Regions from separate parts of the Homo sapiens genome. Here region 2 is linked to region 1. Evidence: promoter capture Hi-C in 16 types of primary human blood cells and fetal thymus (Javierre and others, 2016). All regions are on one chromosome and are shown on one strand. Each heading gives the region's core, a stretch centred on a gene start or on the middle of the fragment in contact. The rest is flanking DNA. Distances are from core to core; before and after follow the strand shown. Region 1 holds the start of MTRF1 (mitochondrial translation release factor 1). Region 2 overlaps DGKH (diacylglycerol kinase eta).

Region 1 (2,904 bases), core at 351-2,850:
GCTAGGATTACAGGCGTGAACCACCACGCCCGACTAAGACTAATTTTTTAAGGAGAATAAAGCTTTATATATAATACTCAAGTTATATAGCTGAAAGCACAAATCAGAATAAATAATTAAAGAACTTTTTGGATAACTTAGGAGAATGACTTTATGTAGACCCTTTGAAACTTTTCCCCTACTGGAACATAAGCTCCATGTGGGCAAAGGTTTTTGTCTTTTCTGTTCATTGCTAAATCCTCATGACTAGAATAGTGAATAGCACATAACTGGTGTTCACTATTTATTGAATACATGATTGAAGGTTTTTTCTTTTTTGGAGCAGGGTGGCCCTATATCAGAGCTTAGGAGCCACAGATCATTAAAGCCATTGCCTTAATTGAGTCTTGGCTCTATCACTTACTGTTTTTTACCTTGGAGTAGTTACTTTAGCTCTGTGTGCCTTAATTTTCTCCTCTGCAAAATAAGTATTTTAAGGTTGTAAAAATTAAATGAATTAATAGGGTAAAACCATTTAGAACAGTATTTAGTACATAGTACATAGAAGTAGGTACCTTGAAGTTGGCTATAAACGTTAGATATTATTTTGCATATATAGCTAATTCTCCTATCTATGTATGTGATTATAATCTAAGAAAATACTCTGTAAAGTCAGTAATATGGTACATTTTTTGCCTTTTCTTTCAGGAAGAAAAATTGAGGCATGGAGATAGAAAGACTGTAAATTGCGATAGCCAAGGGCTGGATCCCACTGGATTAGTCAAAGTAGGACAATATGCTTGCATTTTCCTGCAATTGTTTATTAACTGGAGTTTTCATTCTTCACTTAATCAGTGGTTCATAAGCTATGAATCTAGGTTGAGCCCCTACATTCCCATGTGCAAAGAACATTATAAAATCACTAACATGTGGAAATACACGGTCTCCTAACTTTTGGGGCTGTTACTACTTTTAAAATATAAATTTATTTGTATTATCCTTTAGTCATTAGGTATTTTCTGAAGCAATGGAAGCTGAAAGTATAGAAATTACACGCAGAATCTTCTACATTTGTGGATGATGTAAAAGGAGTCTTTATTTTTTTTAAATATTGGAAAACAGTGCTTTACGGGCTTCTAATACATAAGGAAATTATTGTAATTTCACATGCAATGTGTTCTAAATCTTGATCTCTTAATCAGAATCGTAAAGAATCTCTCTTCTAGGTTTGCAGTTAACGGTGAAAACCAAAAACTCCACATTTGGCTGGATAGTGAGTGGAGGGGGTTGGAGGCTGCCGCAAGGTAAACTACAACTCCCAGGATTCTTTGGTGGGCGCTCTGGGAGTTGTAGTTTAGTCCCACCTTGGCCCCTCCCTCCCTCCCTCCCTCCCACCATCTCCATCCCCGCTCTGGGCTCACGCTCTGGATAAGGACGGCGCGGGGGCGGTTGTCTGATGACAATTTCATTCTCGTTTTGTCATTTTTCTCATTTAGCTCATTTTTGTCATTTTAGTCCATTGTTAGGCATGCTCGAGGACAACTCCTCCGGAGAGCGGTAGTGGCGGAGGAGGGGCCGGGAGCGTGCGTTAACCCGGAAGAAGTGAACCAGGAAGTGAACGTGATCTCGGGTTTGTCGGGCTGAAATGTGGCGGGTCTCGGAAGGTTCCGACCTCAGTAAAGAGAGCTAACGTGTATTCTTCTTTTTCTTAGGTACTCACAGTTCTTTCCTGATCTTCCCCGCCGCCTCCTGTATTGCCTCTTTATGGAATCACTCCATATACTGAGTTACACAGCATGGTTTGCCCGTGCTGCTGCCCCGCGGGCTGTCGCTTCTGACCTGCCTACACTCAGAACTTTCCCCAAAGCATCAGAGTAATACTGTTACTGTGATGGGTAATGGAGAAGTCGTGCTGTTCTCAGGTGTAGTTAACCTTGGAGAGTAAACATCTTGTTTTGTTTTGTTTTCCTTAATGTTGAGATTCATGACCTTGAAAATTATGCATTCTACTACTGTTCCTAAAATGGAAATTTTAGCAATAAGTATTCGTACAAACATATATTTGTCATCCTTTTATTCTGTCTGTTAGCAAATGGATACACTTTCTCTAACGTGCTTGAAATACGGGGGTGGTGGAGTGTAACGTTTGTGACAGCTGGCCATTGGTGCTTTCTTCAACAGTTCTTTTAATAATGTGATGCAGTATCCTAAAATCTATCAGTAGAACTCTGGAAACTGAATATTTTAAAGACCATTCTGACTATTTTATTTCCTAGGTGATAATGCTAAGTTAACAGACTTATAGTGAACAAATGAGCTAATATATCAATGCACCTCCTAGCATAGTAGGATCACTGGAGACAGTAAAGTTTGATTTTGATAAATGTTGATCCTTCTTTTTTTGAGTTGAGTCTCACTGTGTTGCCCAGGCTGGCCTTGAACTCCTTGGCTCAAGTGATCCTCCTGCCTCAGTCTCCTGGGTAGCTGGGACAATAGGTGCATGCTACTGTGCGTGGCTTGACCCTTATTTCAACTTTGAACCTTAGAGTTTTCTTAGAACACTTTATATTCTCCCTTTCTTACTCAGTAAGACCATTGTGTACTTTTGTTAGCTCTTGATTATCTCTGTTGGAGGGGAGGAGAACAGAAAATTATTGTACACAGCCAATTTCACCTAACCTGTAATTTTTTAAACTAATCTTTTTTTATGATTAGGAAAGTATTCCATGCTACATGTGCAAGAAACTTGGAAAACACTGAAAAGTAGAAAAAATAGCAAGCAAAAGGTATTCATAATCTCACAACTAGAGATCATTTTATTAACATTTTGGTATGTTTCTTTTTTTTTTTTTTTTTTTGAGACAGCGTGTTGCTTTGTCGCCCACGCTGGTTGCAGTGGTGCGATCTCAGTTCACTGCAACCTTC
Region 2 (2,959 bases), core at 303-2,802, 920 kb before region 1:
GAAAATATGTGCAAAAGTCAAATAAATGAAAGTAGAATGCAGATTTTCCCATAGAGATTAAAAAATTCTAAATTCCTAATTATATCTTTAATCAATGTTAGAACTTTTTTTTTAAAAAAAAAAAAACATTTTTAGAGATGGGGGTCTTGCTCAGTTGCCTAGGCTGGAGTGCAATGGTGTGATCATAGGTAACTGCATCCCTGAACTCCTGGGCTCAAGTGATCCTCCCAGCTTAGCCTCCTGAGTAGCTAGGACCACAGGTCCATGTCACCATGCTGAGCTAATTTAAAAAAATTTTTTTTGGTAGAGATGTAGTCTCTCTGTGTCGCCCCAGCTGGTCTCTAACTCATGGCCTCAAGCGATCCTCCTGACTTGCACTCCCAAAGCAATGAGATTACAGGGGTGAGCCACTGCATAAGGCCTAGACAGAACTTTTGGCATTTCCAACATTTTATTTCCTTAATTTTGTTCTCTTCCTTCAAAATTGAACATAGTCAACTGTGTGAACCAAATACTCAGTTGAGGCTAACAACAGTCCACATTTCACATACCTGATGATTTCCACTATCATCTCTACTATATTACATATGTTAGACCCATACTTCTCATCACTAGTATTAGTACCCTCATTTATCACCTTTCCACTTAATTTCTTAAAGTGTGGGCAAATGACAGTAAAATATGCACATACTACACTAAGATAAATATGGCAATGGTACCCAGACAGAATCATAGATTGGCAGGCAGGGTCATCATATCTGAAAAATTCATTTTTCATCTAATAAAAAGTTCCAATTTGAAACTGAAGATGATTTAGAAGTATCAATGCATAATACATAAAAATCTCTAGCTATCTTTGTCTCTAGCTGTCTTTGTGCTCTGAGGAAATATTTTTAACAACTACCTCACTTTACCAATTAAATGAGGCGGGTTGGCCTAAATTATCCCTAAAGTAGATTCCAAATCTAAATTCTATGGTTCTATGACAATGGCGTCAATATTCCTGCTAGCTAGTTATCCCATTTTCTGAAACTTTTGTACACAGAACAAAATGCATTTATTTCAAAACTTGGGGGGTGAGTAGAGTGCGTAAGTAAAAAACCTAATTAACTCCTACTGTTAAAGCTAAAAAAGTTTTTAAACTACTGACTAAATAAAAGGAGAGACATACATTGTAGCTAAAGACAACTTATTTAATAACTGTTTTACATTTTTACTAATAAATGGTATCTATGATTGCTAGTTAGAGCTGTGATTCTCAGAAGATAACTCTTATTACCATACCAAATTGATGAAGTTCTAAGGTCAAAGAAATGTTGTTTTAGGTTAACCTACATGTTAGCTATGTTAGTGGAATACAACTTTTCCATTAGCATTTCAACATTTTAAAAATAGCTGAAAACAGTTAAGGCTACTGGGAATTATTATTGCATGAAATAAATACAAACAGGCACAAGAGGGTTTAAACATTTTGCCTTAATATTGTATCACTGAATAAATAAATAACATTCACAAAAAAAGGGAATTCTTTATCTAGGTAGTAATTACAAGTGTGTATGTGTGTCTGTGTGTGACTGTGCGTACATGCAGTATTTTTTTAATCATTGAGTTGTGCTCTTGTGATTTAGGTGCTTTACTGTATATGTCATGCCTCAGTAAGAATTGTTTTTTAAAGGGAAACCATTATAGAATTTTTAAGTGTTTTTTTTTTTTAAGACGGGATCTCACTCTGTCATCCAGATTGGAGTGCAATGGCGTGATCACAGCTCACTGCAGCCTCGAACTCTCATGCTCAAAGGATCCTCTCAACTCAGCCTCCTGAGTAGCTAGGACTACAGGCACATACCACCACACCCAGCTAATTTTAAAACTTTTTGTAGAGATGGGATTCCACTATGTTGCCCAGGCTGGTCTTGAACTCCTGGGCTCAAGTAATCCTCCCACCTTGGCCTCCCAAAGTGTTGAGATTATAGGCATGGACCACCATGCCTGGTCAAGATTTTTAAAGTCTTAAAGAGATATCACTCAAATGTAGTGTGTGAGCATTGTCTGAATTTTGAACAAATAAAGTGTGTGTGGTTTTTTTTTTTTTTAAAGACCTTGTCAAAATTCAGACAAGGTTCACAGAAAAACCTCTGAGAAAACTAAGGGAAATGGGATATGGCTTAAGTAATATTGATAGTGTTAGAGAATTATTATTAATTTTTAGATTTTTAAAAAGATTATATGTGCGCACATGCACACGTGCACACAAGCACACACACACACATACAGTTAGCCCTCCATATTCATGGGTTCCACATCCATGGAGTCAACCAACCATGGTCTGAAAACATTTGAAAAAGAAAACAGATTGTTTTGTCTACACTGAATATGTGCAGACTTTTTTTTGTCATCATTCCCTGAACAATACAGTATAACAACTATTTACATAGCAAATACATTTGTTATTATAAATAATCTAGAGATGATTAAAGTATGTGGAAGGATGTGTGTAGGTTATATGCAAATACTATGGCATTTTCTATGAGGGACTTGAGTACCTATGAATATTGGTATCCAAGGGGGTCCTGGAGCCAATCCCCCATGGATAGAGAGGGAGGACTATATACCAAAAGTGTAGTAGAATAATTTTCAGGATGTTCTTAGAGATACTGTAGCAAAATAAAGTAGGAAGCAGATGGCAAAATGTTGGTAAATACTGAAACTGAATGATGGGTACAGTGGGAAGTAATTATATCAGTTTTGTTTGAAAATGTCCATAAAAATAAAATTTAGAGATGCTGAGCCACTGCCCATTTGTGATGGCACATGGAAGTCAAAGCTGCACCTCCAGCATGGCCCCTCTGGCCAGCCAGCCACCTCCAATGAGACCTGCACCCCGGCCAGCACCAGCAGCTCAGCTGCCAGCACCAGCAGCTCAGCTGCCAGCACCAGCAGCTCAGCTGCCAGCACCAGC

Evidence for each region. Contacts are between HindIII fragments. The CHiCAGO score rates a contact against its expected background, and 5 or more counts as called.
Region 2: a contact is called between a fragment that was not itself captured here and the fragment with the promoter of MTRF1 in region 1, in 1 of 17 cell types (M2 macrophages). The highest score is 5.5, in M2 macrophages.

What each region holds. Positions count from the first base shown.
Region 1 is chr13:41,262,272-41,265,175 of GRCh38, reverse strand. It overlaps MTRF1 (mitochondrial translation release factor 1), which reads left to right and starts at 1,600. Exons shown (of 10, transcript NM_004294.4): 1 at 1,600-1,691. RefSeq lists a silencer at 1,305-1,394 and an enhancer at 1,682-2,182. The HindIII fragment of the contact is 4,724 bases long and covers 65-2,904 here.
Region 2 is chr13:42,182,043-42,185,001 of GRCh38, reverse strand. The region is part of intron 13 of DGKH (diacylglycerol kinase eta); the gene reads right to left. It also overlaps the pseudogene CHCHD2P11. Among named protein-coding and RNA genes, the nearest start is that of AKAP11, 89 kb to the left of the region's middle. The HindIII fragment of the contact is 6,696 bases long and covers 1-2,959 here.